Regions from separate parts of the Homo sapiens genome. Here regions 1, 2, 3 and 5 are each linked to region 4. Evidence: promoter capture Hi-C in 16 types of primary human blood cells and fetal thymus (Javierre and others, 2016). All regions are on one chromosome and are shown on one strand. The core of a region is centred on a gene start or on the middle of the fragment in contact, and the rest is flanking DNA. Distances in the headings are between cores, read along the strand shown. Region 1 overlaps DYDC1 (DPY30 domain containing 1). Region 2 has its middle 27 kb from the start of DYDC1. Region 3 has its middle 4.2 kb from the start of PRXL2A. Region 4 holds the start of SH2D4B (SH2 domain containing 4B). Region 5 has its middle 18 kb from the start of LINC02655.

What was found. The method cuts DNA at HindIII sites, captures the fragments that hold promoters and counts their contacts. A CHiCAGO score of 5 or more calls a contact.
Region 1: a contact is called between a fragment that was not itself captured here and the fragment with the promoter of SH2D4B in region 4, in 2 of 17 cell types (erythroblasts and fetal thymus). The highest score is 6.4, in erythroblasts.
Region 2: a contact is called between a fragment that was not itself captured here and the fragment with the promoter of SH2D4B in region 4, in 1 of 17 cell types (fetal thymus). The highest score is 6.1, in fetal thymus.
Region 3: a contact is called between a fragment that was not itself captured here and the fragment with the promoter of SH2D4B in region 4, in 14 of 17 cell types (activated CD4 T cells, megakaryocytes, non-activated CD4 T cells and 11 more). The highest score is 10.6, in activated CD4 T cells.
Region 5: a contact is called between a fragment that was not itself captured here and the fragment with the promoter of SH2D4B in region 4, in 1 of 17 cell types (M2 macrophages). The highest score is 5.4, in M2 macrophages.

What each region holds. Positions count from the first base shown.
Region 1 is chr10:80,347,818-80,350,517 of GRCh38, forward strand. All of the region lies in intron 3 of DYDC1 (DPY30 domain containing 1), which reads right to left. It also overlaps a transcript of DYDC2 not described here. Among named protein-coding and RNA genes, the nearest start is that of DYDC1, 7.6 kb to the right of the region's middle. RefSeq lists a silencer at 622-822. The HindIII fragment of the contact is 874 bases long and covers 850-1,723 here.
Region 2 is chr10:80,328,416-80,331,115 of GRCh38, forward strand. No RefSeq gene overlaps it. Among named protein-coding and RNA genes, the nearest start is that of DYDC1, 27 kb to the right of the region's middle. The HindIII fragment of the contact is 1,034 bases long and covers 798-1,831 here.
Region 3 is chr10:80,402,984-80,405,683 of GRCh38, forward strand. No RefSeq gene overlaps it. Among named protein-coding and RNA genes, the nearest start is that of PRXL2A, 4.2 kb to the right of the region's middle. RefSeq lists a silencer at 691-863. The HindIII fragment of the contact is 1,954 bases long and covers 365-2,318 here.
Region 4 is chr10:80,536,566-80,539,265 of GRCh38, forward strand. It overlaps SH2D4B (SH2 domain containing 4B), which reads left to right and starts at 1,337. Exons shown (of 8, transcript NM_001388272.1): 1 at 1,337-1,950. The coding sequence starts at 1,767. The HindIII fragment of the contact is 17,935 bases long and covers 1-2,700 here.
Region 5 is chr10:80,666,556-80,669,255 of GRCh38, forward strand. No RefSeq gene overlaps it. Among named protein-coding and RNA genes, the nearest start is that of LINC02655, 18 kb to the left of the region's middle. The HindIII fragment of the contact is 536 bases long and covers 1,097-1,632 here.

The sequences.
Region 1 (2,700 bases), core at 37-2,536, 190 kb before region 4:
GTTTTTATGCCAATACCATACTGTTGTAATTACTATGGCTTTGTAATATAATTCTGGATCAAGTAATTTGATAGTTCCAACTTCGTTTTTCTTTCTTAGGATTGCTTTGGCTATTCAGGGTCTTTTGTACTTCCATACAAATTTTAGAATTGGGTTTTTCTGTTTCTGTGAAGAATGCCATTGGAATTTTGATAGGGATTGAGATGAATCTGCAGATTACTTTAGGTAGTATAGACATTTTAACAATACTAACTCTTCTGATATATGAACACAAGATATCTTTCCATTTATTTGTGTCTTCCTCAATTTTTTGCATTAGTGTTTTACAGTTTTCAAGGTATAGATGTTTCACCTCCTTGGTTACATTTATTCCTACGTATATTATTCTTTTTGAAGCTATTATAAATAAGATTGTTTTCTTGGTTTCTTTTTCGAGTAAGTTATTGGTAAACAGGATTTAAATTTTTCTTAATGAGAAGAAATACTCCCAACCACTATTATCAAACATTAAATGGCTTTGGAAATTAGCTTTGGCTGCAGACTTGATAATGTTTCTTAATTCATTTTAAAATTACATGGCAAAACATCACTCATATGTAAAACTTACACTGCAGTAAACTCACTTCAACAACAGCTCATGTTGTTTGAATCACAAGTAACGTAAAGCTGCTTTATACACGTCCAGTGCTGTCAAAACTAGAACAGGATATTAGATCTCCGTTCCCAAACAAATTGTCAGTGGATGTATTTTCCAACCTCGAACTACAATTCCAGAGTGTTTGTAAGGCCTCAACGTAAGTGCAAAGGAAATTTCCATATTCTGAAATCCATTTAACTATGCAATTAAGAAGCTTCCATCAACCTTCAGTTGGAAGTGGCTATTCTACAAAGTAATGCATGCTAAAAGGCAAACAGCAAGAGAAAAACAAAATTCTAGAAATACCTTCTAAGGAATGAATATGCTTAATTTAAATTATACACACATAGACTGATAGCAACTTTTGACAGTAACTATGTAAAAAGACATTTTCAAGGATGAAATGCATAAAACCTCATTACAGATCAGCATTAGCAGATAAACTTTTTTTTTTTGAGGCGGAGTCTCGCTCTGTCGCCCAGGCTGGACTGCAGTGGCGCGATCTCGGCTCACTGCAAGCTCCGCCTCCTGGGTTCGCGCCATTCTTCCCCCTCAGTCTCCTGAGTAGCTGGGACTACAGGAGCCCACCACCACGCCCGGCTAATTTTTTGTATTTTTAGTAGAGACGGGGTTTCACCGCGTTCGCCAGGATGGTCTCGATCTCCTGACCCTGTGATCCGCCCGCCTCGGCCTCCCAAAGTGCTGGGATTACAGGCGTGAGCCACCGCGCCCGGCCCGCAGATAAATATTTTAAAATAGATTTTGATGATAGACCACACTAACGCTGAACTTCAACCAAGTGAAATGTTATCTTTTAAAAACTTTTTTAAATTCTCAATAGTAAACCTATCTAATAAAAAATTTATATTCAGTGATTATTATTTGAATTTCATCAATAAAACATTTGCAAAAATTCATTTTCTCTCTTGTTATTCCTACATAATATGCCATAATGCCTTCATAATATCATCAAATTTGCCTCTTGGCCTGTAAAGCATAAAATGTCTACTATCTGACAATGCATTCTAAAATAATAAATTTTTACAAGTAAAGATATAATAAAGTGCTTGATATTTTATTTGCAAAAGCTTTTAAAGGTAATTTCTTAGTATTCCTATATTATCACTACTAAGATAAAAGTGATGGGGTAGGTAGCTGAAACGCAGAAACAGTTTCAATCAACTTTCAGACATTGGTAGAGGAAGTTAAATAACTCCAATCTCTCAACAATAATGCAAAGTGTATTTGTTAAATAACAGTCAGATTGATCAAAACAACCAGCTTCTTGACATTTTCAAGAAACTTCCAAAACCTAATCCCCTTCCTCACACATGAGCAAAACCACTGAAAGCCATTCAAAACAAATAAACAAAAAAGCTCTTACTTCAAAACTAAGCTCTTACATAGAAAATGGCAATAAAAATACTTCCCTGTTCACAAAAAACTAGGCTTGTGGAGAGTGCCTAAAATATCAAGGAATTTCAAGTCAGTGGTACTGACTATGAGGACAACTGCTTTTGCAACCAGCAAGGAAATAACCAGAGTTCCCAACCTCCAGCTTACATGACTCAGAAGGCACCCAGAGGCCTCTCTGTTTTTCTTCATCTCAGCCACACTCTCTCAAGCCTTTCTCTGTTGATCGATCTCTCCTATCTATTTCTGCACACCAATCCACTCCGCTAACTGGCCATAACATCTCCTGTATAATATTATTTTCTCTTCCGCCCTACTACAATACTTAGGATTCAATGCACAGTGGATTAGTTCATACCGGTCAACATAATATGGCTAGAGAAACTTGTTATTGCTAGTATTGCCAAATTATGCATAAGTAGGATAAAGTAGTCGAGCCGAAGAGAGTTATGTATCTCCCACTTACGATGTAATTGCCTAGGGGAAGGAGAACCTCTGGGAATTCTCTTATTTTTGATAGACAGGAACAGATACCAGCTATAGGAGCTGTAAGAGGAAGGATGGCTCCTCATCCACAGTTGTGGCTGCTGCAGGAAGCACCTGGCCTGTTTGGATGACAGTTGACACCCAACTCAACACTTTTTAACCTC
Region 2 (2,700 bases), core at 65-2,564, 210 kb before region 4:
AATCTGCAAATGTATTCAGTAGTTATATTTCTAACATAACTGGGTGACAGGACCAGTTTCAACACTTACTGGTACAATGCTGAATGCTACTCTTTGAGACTTCATTTCCCTATACTTTCAAACACAAGCTCATACCAACTCTATAAACTCCCAGGGGAGCTGTTGGCATTAGTAAGTACTCCATGCTAGTCTCTATTCTCTCTTCTTCACCAACTTCATGCCTGACCCCTTCCCACCGAGACACAGTCCCCGCCTGTCTTGCCCCAGTCCTCACAGTATGTGTCTAAGCTAGACAATGAGCATCAACCCTGGTTCTAATTTACAGGCAAGCTTCCTGGTGGGGCCATAGTCCTTCCTCAACCACTTGGCTGGACCAGATCCTTGCAAAATCCTTTCCCATGAGCTGTACCCCTCACTGTCTCCTCTGCTACCTTGACCTCCCCCTTCTCCCACCACTGCTCAGTTCCTGGCCAGGAACCTGCTTTGAACAAGGTCACCACCTCCTTCCCTCCAGCCACAGTACTGACACCTACCTGAGAGTAAGCATGGGAGCCACGCACTCCAGGGCTGCTCCTACCTGACTCTAAACCCCTATGGTCCCGCGACAGTCTCCCAATCCTCAGTTCCAGGGCACCTCCATTACCCACTGACTCTGTTCTACCTCTGTGTTTGTTATGAGCTACTGGAGAATATAATAACTCTGATGAGATCTCTATTTACCTCACACAGCACCTAGCATGTAATAGCAGTAGTAACTACTTGTTGAGTGCTTACTAAGTGCCAGGCACTGTTGTAAAAGCTTTCCATGAATTAACTCATTTAATCCTTCTCACAACCCTAAAGAGGTCAGCACTATTACTTTACTTAGTATACAAATGAGGAAGTTGAGGCAGAGCAGGCATTCATACATTTTTTAATGGATAAACTTCAAGTGGGTTCACAGAGTTGTCCATCAATCACTTTATTCATCCATTGCCCCAGAAGACATTGTAAAATTCATCCTCACTCAAGTACTTGACCAACCTCTGCCTTTCTTTCCTTCTTTACCAAGTGGCTCAGAGGTATATAATGCAAATTCTGCAGTGTACCCCTAACTCCTTCCAAGTATTCATCCTCCATACCTCAAAATGTCTGTCTCTATATTTTCCCCTCCTGGAGTGGAGGAAAAGGTGATTTATGAAGTACTTGTCTTCCTCTGATTTGTCCCACCCCCAATTCTTCTGGAACCCTGCTCTAATGCTTTGAGCTACACCTTCAGTCAACTTGCCACTTTCCTATTGCCAAAACACAAATGAAACTTCATTTCTCCCTACAAGGAGAATCCTTCCCCAGCCCTGTTACATCTTCAAGTCACTCTCTCTTCATCACCAAACTTCTCCAAAGACTGGCTTCACCAGCCCCTTTCCTGTCTACCAAAATTCACACCCTTAACCACCAGAGCTGAATTTCACCCCCATATCCTTAATAAAAACAGGGAAAAATCCTCAAAGGCCATTACAGGTCCTTCTACACATCACTCCCATCTCCTTCCCTCCACAACATTTGCCATTCTCCTGGAAACTCACCCTGGATGGTGAGGATGAGCTTCTGCCTCTGTCCATCCATTTGAGCCTTCTCTGGTCCCACTAACTACTCTTTATCCTGTTGCTGCCTCACCCCACCCCCAATTCAAATGGACATAACCTCCCTCAGAGATCCCTGCCAGTAACTCCCAAACCTTTGCATCCATTCTCAACTTTTCTCCTGGGTTTCATTCTGCCTTTCCAACAGTCTATGAAATAATTTTACACATATATCAGCCTGCTTTATCAAATAGTAAGTCTACAACTGAAGCTTTAGTCCCAAATATGGCCACTTCCCATTTTTTACTGACATCCTTAATCTAAAATGAGTCCTTCTGACTGCTCTCTGTCTCAGCACACTGCTTAATTTCCCTCACTGCCCCATTGCAATTTACTTTGTTCACTTGCTTCCTTTGGACTATATGTGCCATATGTTTAGGAACTATGTCTGTCTTGTTCACCATGACAAGCACAGTGTCTGGTATGGAGCAACCACTCCAAACATTTTTTGTTTACTCAATATGTCTTTGTTCTTCTAGCTCTTCTCAAATTGCTCTTCTTGAAGTCACCATGTTTCCAAGCCTAAACATCAGCAGTGATTGCTTACCTTGGCCTCCTCATTGAGTCACCAAATCCTGACTATCCATCCTTTATAAGACCATGGCATTTGACCGTTGCTTTCCATTTGCACTGCCACTTCAAAAGTCCTTTTTCAGGCAAAAAACAAAACAAAACAAAACAAAACAAAAAGACTCTTTAACCTATTTCTAAGTCTTTGACCCATCTATTCACTTCCTGAGATTGGGTCTTCCTACAAAATCAATTTGATCCCGTGATCAAAAGCCTTCAGTGCCACCCAACATGCCTTAACTCAAGTCCAAACCTTTGAAGCTGGTGTCCAGATCCTTCATGATCTGGCTCCTAACAGCCTCTCTACTCCTCTGTTTTGCCAGAATCCTTCACATCTCCATAGATCTCACATGCAAAAAATGTGAAACCATGTCTAAAGAAGTAAAGGAAAGTATATGAATGATGTTTTCCTTAAAAAAGTTAATAGATATAAATCCTAAAAAGGAAACAAGTAGACAATCTAGAACTGAAAAGTACAACAGCTGGAATGAAAATTTTACAAGAGAGA
Region 3 (2,700 bases), core at 92-2,591, 130 kb before region 4:
AAAAGTGATAGTCTTTACCAATGTTTACATAATTTCATTTTTATTGCATTTTTAATACTCCAATACTATGGAGATAAAGGGCTAGTTCCTTATTTAATTGAAATCAACATTTTTCCAGGTAAGAAATTTGCTTTCAGTGTTCGATAAAGAATTTTTATTATATTTAAGTGATTTGCTTTTATTTCTATTTTACTTAGGGCTATGACTAGGAAATTCTACAATTTTAACTGGATTTCTTTTCAGCATCTATTAATATGATAAGCAGTTTTGTTCCTGTTTTCTGTTCATATGGACTAATAGATCTACTAATGTTGACACCCGCTTACAATCCTGGACTAAACTCTACTTGATTATAGAATAGCAAAGCTTGTAATTTCTAAGTTGCTCATTTTTTCACATTTTAACATGTCTGAAATTGGGTCACGCATTACAATTAGTGGTGTCCTATGACTGCTATTGTAGTAACAGATGTGACAGTTGTCATTGCCTGCACACCCGTCAATGTAGTCATAGCTGCTTAGATTGTTGACCCTTCAGTTGAGTTATGGACATTGCTTGTACTCCATGAGTTGACTTTAAATGCTCTATAAAATCTTCTAGGGCCAGGTGCAGTGGCTGACGCCTGTAATCCCAACACATTGGGAGGCTAACAGTGGAGGATCGCCTGAGTCCAGAAGTTTCAGACCAGCCTGGGCAACATGGTGAGACTCCATCTCTATTTTTTTGTTTTTTATTTTATTATTATATACATATTTTTGAGACAGAGTCTTGCTCTGTCGCCTAGGCGGGAGTGCAGCGGCGCGATCTCGGCTCACTGCAAGCTCCGCCTCCTAGGTTCACGCCGTTCTCCCGCCTCAGCCTCCCGAATAGCTGGAACTACAGGCGCCGGCCACCAAGCCCGGCTCATTTTTTTGTATTTTTAGTAGAGACGGGGTTTCACCGTGTTAGCCAGGATGGTCTCGATCTCCTGACTTCATGATCCGCCCGCCTCGGCCTCCCAAAGTGCTGGGATTACAGGCGTGAGCCACGCGCCCGGCCTTTTTTTAAAATTTATTTTTATTTATTTTTATTTTTTTGAGACGGAGTCTCGCTCTGTCGCCCAGGCTGGAGCGCAGTGGCGCAATCTTGGCTCACTGCAAGCTCCGCCTCCCGGGTTCACGCCATTCTCCTGCCTCAGCCTCCCGAGTAGCTGGGACTACAGCTGCCCGCCACCACGCCCGGCTAATTTTTTTGTATTTTCAGTAGAGATGGCGTTTCACCGTATTAGCCAGGATGGTCTGGATCTCCTGACCTCGTGATCCCACCGCTTTGGCCTCCCAAAGTGCTGGGATTACAGGGGTGAGCCACCACGCCCGGCCTCTATTTTTTTAAACAGTAAAATCTTCTAAAATATTACTCCAAGATTTGACACTGAAATGAAAAAGTTTTTGCAAATGCAGAAATTCATAAAATCAGAGCAGTGGAACATAAATTTGATATTAGTAAAGCAACTTTTGTTATCAGAAGAATTACTTCATTTTCCTATATTCTTGCAGAGCAACAATTGAGACACTTATGGAACCTAAGAAAGCTATACATACACACACAAATGAAGTCTATTATGTTTTGCTATTGAGAAACACACAAAAGAATTGTAAGGCACTGGAAAAGTTGCCAAATCTCTTGAAATGGATAAAAGGAATTCCAAAGCAATGAAAGGTTGGTGTCATCAATTCATTTGTTTTGAAGGACTATCATTAAGATGTCAAACATCTTTTTGTCAAAAACTTCTGCTGATGTTGAGCAGAAGGCTATATGGAGCACCCTTTAAGAAATGCTGTGTTACCAATGTTTCTAATGGTCAGAGGATAATATTGTGTGACAAATCCAGAAATCAGCAACTCTAAGTCTAAAAATAGTAAAAAAACAAAAAAACAAAAAAAAAACAAAAAACGAAAGAGTTGGGCTTTGAATGTGAAGATATCTAAGGAATGCCTTATCCTGTTCATTTCACTTATATTTTTTCTTTTTAAGTGTGCACACAGGGATAGATGAGTTGGGAATGAACCTAGACTTAGAGTGCAGTAGTACCCTGGCCACAATGACTGGCCAATCAGTATGAGGATCTGGGTTTTGTTCACTCCTTAGTCTAACTGCCCCTTCCCCATGTTGGATCCTAGGAATCATCCTATGACCATAGGGAGAACCATCCTTAATATGAAGCCAACACATGGATAATGGCAGAGAAGCAAGAGAACCTCGACTGTTGATGACATCATGAAACCACAGGATCACCTCAAGGCAACTGGAATTGGGTTTTCTGTTAACTTGCAAATCAAAGCTTCCTAACTGAATAAAGACTCAGTTAATGTTAGTTGGTAGTGCATGCAATGATGGTTGAGGACACTTGAGACAATCCTGCTTTCTCAACCTGGGGGCAGAATAATACCACCATCTAGCCCTCAGTCAGCCATCGGTTCACCTGGTAAACCATTGGCCACATTTATGGAAGGTTTTAGAAAGAGGTCCCTATTGACTTTGCTTTGCTTTGAGACACACTGTGGAAGTATAGGATTTTTTATGCTTAAAACAAATAAGAAAGAGCTGAATTCAGGGATATTGGCATATAGAGAAAATATTTGAAGCTGATCTATGCACATCTATTTTTGAGATTCACATACAAGTCTTGTTCTTGATTTCGCTTTTACCCATCCACAGAAT
Region 4 (2,700 bases), core at 87-2,586:
CTAGGGAAGACCCCCGGTCTCAGAAACTGAGGGGAGCCAGGACTCCCGGTGGGGGAGTCGGTGCAAGCCCTGAGGTGGGTGGATGGGAGTCCAGGGCCACAGCTCTGCAGCGGACAGGCGAGTCCTGTGGCGGCTCTAGGAAGGTCTGGGCACACTGGGACCAGCTAGCTGGACCTGGGTGGGGAGGGGTGGGGCGTCTGACTCCACTCCTGTGACCTGGACATTGCCTAGCTGAGCAGGAGCTTTGACCCTATGGGCTTACAGCTCATCTGAATCTGCTTAGTCCATCTTCCTGTTGTGTTAACCTTGCAGAGGGGGAAGAATGCCAACTCTCCACCCCTCTTCCATCACTCTTGGGTACCTGATCCACCTTCCACCCTCATGGGCAAGGAAGGGGACAGGAAGGTCACCAATCCAACCAAGCCACAGTGCCAAATCCTGTTGGTTCGTTTGTTTTCCCTTGGTTGGGTTATGTTTTCAAACCATCAACAGATTCATAGTTGCTAGTGGATGTCAAATTTCAAAACGGGGGAGTCCCAATACAGTGACTTGTCCATTAGGAAGCCATAGGCAAGCCACTTACTTTCTCTGAGCTTCAATATCCTTGTCCCAATAAGAAGGCATCTGTGATTTGCTCTGAGCACATATTTAGGGTGAGCTTTCACCCTAAAGATCTCAGCAACGGCAGCTTCTACCCACCTTCACACACCAAAGAGAGGGTGGCTTCCCTCCCAGCAGAAGGCAACATCCCGCCATTCCAGTGTGCTTCTGATCAGGGCACAGAGAAGAGCCAGTTTCATCTTCTTTCTTTTTGGTCAACTCCAGGCATCTGCAACAAACAAGATTAACAACGACCATTAAAACTGGCCCCTGGAGGGTTTATCTGTCAGCCACGCATGGCTGCAGGATCTCATTATATATAGGCCAAAGGGAAAGGATGTCTGCTTCCTTTCTGTCCTGGAATTCCAAGATAAAATCCCCTCCAGTTGTCTCTACTGATTCCATTTTGTTTTCTTTCTTGGCTGTAACACAGATAGGAGGAAAAATCTTTCCTCCCCCAAGGCAGAGTTTTAAACGCATCATCTCAGAATGCCAAATGTTCTGGAAAGGAAGAAAGTTGGCAGCGAAGGAACCCGCAGAGAGAGGGGCTGAGAGGGCTGAGGGGCCCAGCAGCTTCTGGCAGGCTCCTCTGGTCTGTGTTTGAAATTGGCTGAAAAGACATGGAATTTAGTAGGCAAGTCTGCCTCCTTCTCCTCCTCTTATCTGCAGAGGAGAGATCAGTTCCCAGCTGGCCGGGGCAGTGTCATTGATATAGCTGGTGTCATTGTTACCTTCCACTAACAGATCACTCGACACCTACCAGCCCAGGCAGGGCTGGGACTGGGCATTTCCTGGCTGAGCTGGAGGCTTGGGCCCTTCCCATTGTCTCAGAACCCCAGGTGATGCCAAGACATGGGCTCTCCTGGGATGCCGTGCTTGGTGACCCAGGAGAAGGACTAGATTGCTCCTGGTGGTTGCTCCCCCTTGCAGAGTCCCACCTGCCCCTTTGGGTCCTGTTGCCTGGCCTCTTTTGCTGTCCTGGGTAGAGGAGATGAGTTCGTCGCTGGCTGCAAGCTGAGGCCAACTGACAATGCTGCACAGAGAAGGGGCACCGAGAGTGGCCCCGGATTGAGCAGTCCGTAGTGCAGAGCAGCCCCTCGGGCGTTCTGCCTGGCCCTGCTTCCCCTGCTGGCTGCCCTTCTGGTGCGTGCATCCCAGGTGGCATCATGCTGCAGCAGATCCTGCACGACATGTACATCGACCCCGAGCTCCTTGCCGAGCTCAGCGATGTGCAGAAGCACATCCTCTTCTACAAAATGCGGGAGGAGCAGCTGAGGCGCTGGAAGGAGCGGGAGACTTGGGAGGCCCTGGCCCAGGACGAGGGTCTCAGGCCTCCAAAGACCAAGCGAGGTACGTGGCTGGGAGTCACAGAGAGGTAGGCCACCAGTCCCCCAGGAGGTAGAAAAATTAGCAGGGCCAGGCTGTGCCCTTCTTCAAGATGGGCACTGGGGTGATGAGGGCTGGGGGCTTGAAACCCTTGTCTTGTGGGCATCAGGTCCCATGAGCCTGTGCTTTTGCCTTTTGGCCAGGACCTTAGGGCTTCGAGGCTGCTGCAGAGGCTGTCCAGCGGCCCTTATTGGAGTCGGGGAGTTGGGACTTGCTTTGTCTTGTTGTGGAAGGCCCGAGTTCTGGGAAGACACCATTGAGACTTCAGATTGTGCTCCGACGTGGTTGGCAATGGTAGGGTGAACGACGGCATATTTGTGACCCTTGCCATTGGTTCTGGGCCAGAGTGTGGTGTAGATATGCAGTTCCTTTCTCCTTGGCATGCGTGGCACACCAGTTCTTGGCTAGGGCCCCTTCTGTGGACTGTGCCTCTCCCTCCAGATCCTCCGGCAGGAGGATGCTGTGGGTTGTCTCTGGAGCCCCACTGGGCATCCGGAGAGAGGGCATCAGGGAACGTCCCACACAATGAATGACCATCCCCAAATGGTCGTAGCAACTGCAGATGAGAAGCAAGGGCCTAGCCTACATTTCAGGTGTTTTGTATGCAAAGTCATGTGCCAGTCAATCCTATGGACTGGTACACCTGTGGGTGAAGGAAATCATCCAGGACCCCTGGGCCAGAAACTGGCAGGCTGCTGAGGCTTGGCTTGGCAC
Region 5 (2,700 bases), core at 115-2,614, 130 kb after region 4:
AGCTCTCTGTACCTCCTCCAGACTAATTAAAGACTAATTAAAACAATCTCTGGGGAGTGGGGGCCCAGGCATCTCACATTTTCAAACCTGTTGAGATGATAATGATTGTAGCTGAGGCTGAGAAGCACTGGGCTATGGGAGTCTTTGCCCCACTACAGAGCTGGGATTTAATGGAGCCATTTACAAAGCTGCTGGCTGGTCCTTGTTGGCTGTGCCAACAGGGAGAACAAGCTCACAGTATTTTATTTCTATATAATACAGTCAGTAGTCCCAATAGAAAGCAAGGAAAGGTTCTTAAAGCCATCTGCTTCAGGAGAAAACTGGGGTGTGGGACTTGCTGCCAAGAGGAGAAATTCAGAGGGATGGGATAGAGGCCTGTTTGCAGAAGAAAGAGGGGCTGGACAAGTAGTTCAGAAGCATTCACATTCCTTGTTCTGGGATGGGATGGGCAAGGGGCAAGAATGTAGGAGGGAGGGAGCCTGAGGAAGCATCACTACTCCTGGGAGTCATAGTATGAGGAAGAGCTCTTATGGCCCTGAGAGGATGGGGCTGCCTGGAGCCCAGGGTCCCAACCTATCACTTCCCAGGGAGGGTGAAAGTGTCCCTGTCCCTGGGGGTCCTCATGGAGGCCTCTGTGTCATTGCCAGCCCTTGCCCAGAGGATATGTCCTGTCAGGGGGAGGGTGTGGCATGGCTGCGAGCTGAGCAAGGCAGGTATAGGTGGCAGAGGGGCCATGGTAGGAGGAGAGAGGTACTAGCCAGCTCGGCCTCTCTCCCTCACAGCACTGCCCCGCTGTGTGACCGCTGAGTGGGGAAAAGGTATGAAGTACTTACATGATGCTTAAGGCACAAAAAGTAACATATTTTTTATTCTTTCTAAATGATACACAATCTAGCTCTGAGATTCAGCTCGTGAGGAAGCCAGGTCTGGTCGCTTCTGGCCTCTCCCTAAACAAGAGCTCTGAGGCTCACAGGATCCATGTTGACTGCCTCTTTCCTCTCCTTGCTCTGCCTGTTAAGGGCATGGCTTCCTCAAGAAGGCTACCCTGAAGCCCCATGCAGCAGCCCTTTCCTCTGCCTGCAGCTCGGGCTAAAAAAGCTTTGTTCCTTTGTTCTGAGACCTTGCCATCCTTGGAGTGTTGGGCCTGAAATGGGTTCTGGTTACAACTAGGAGCAGAAACCCAAACCCTTCTCCTCCTGCAACTTATCTGGAAACAAAACTTTTCTTCAATCTGCAGCATTCAAAGCTGCAAACTCTTCACCTTTGACCAGCTGTTCCCATTGGATTCACCTGGGGCACTTTAAGAACTGCTGACTGACTGTCACTTCTAGATTTCCTGATTTAATTGGTCTGGGTGCAGGCTAGGCATAGAGACTTAAAGTTCCAGGTGATTCTGATCTGCAGCCAGGGTTGCGAGCTGTTGCCAGCCCAATTCCTCTTCATTAGGCATAGAGAAGTTTCATGGACCCAGCTGTCTGCAGAAAGCAAGTGGCTAACATCAACACAGGATGCCAAGTCTCCCACCTGCACAGATCCAGTGTCTTTAAAAACCTGTGCAGGCTGAAAACAGTGTCTAAAGGGTGGCCCTCAGTGACCAGCATGGCACCACTCACCTGGGTTTTTGAGAACAAAAGCTTACTCACATACTCACCTAGCAAGTAAGGGAAGCCCATGCCTTTGGGACCAAAAGTTCTGGCTGTATTTGAGGCGGAATAAAACACAGCTGTTTCACATCCAGGTTATAGTACATTTCTAACAAATCATTCTACTACGCTAGCTTACTTCTTTTTGCCCAGTTTGAATGCCAGTGCCATAATGCCAGGGATTACGTCTATGAGTTTTCTGCCGTATCCCTACTTTACAGGACAGAGCCTGGCACTAAGGCAATCTTTGTCACAAGAACAGATGAATACCGGAATGGATGGATGGATGGATGGAAGGGTAGATGGATGGATAAATGCATGGGTGGGTGGATGGATGGATGGATAGGTGGATGGAAGAACGAATGGATAGATGGGTGGGTGGATACAGGATGAGCATGTGGATGGATGATCCAGAATCACTGCCTCCTGAGATGCTCTAGAAAATCAGCCTCTCACTCAGGATTTGTATTAGTTTGTTCTCACACTGCTATAAAGAACTACATGAGACTGGGTAATTTATAAAGAAAAGAGGTTTAATTGACTCACAGTTCTGCATGGTTGGGGAGGCCTCAGGAAACTAACAATCATGGCGGAAGGCAAAGGGGAAGAAGCATGTCTTACCATGGTGGAGCAGGAGAGAGAGAGAGAGAGCAAGAGGGAGAGAGAAGGTGCTAAACACCTTTAAACAGCCAGATCTTGTGAGAACTCTATCATAAGACAGCACTAGGGTGATGATGCTAAACCCTTAGAAACCACCCCCGTGATCCAATCACCTCCTACCAGGTCTCTCCCCCAGCACTGGGGATTACAGTTCCACATGAGATTGGGATGGGGACACAGAGCCAAACCATATCGTAGTTCTTTTCAAAAGACAGAATTGGCGAGGGACGCCTGAAAGCAGAGCAACATGTCAATTCAATTTTTAAAAAGGTGAGAACTTCAGAGCCTAGGAAAGTTTCCTTTGAGCTATTCACATGGTCACCATTTAAGATTTTGTGAGTAGTGACCACATTGGCCTCTCTGTCTTGTGACACACACTCCCCATGATTGGGAAGAG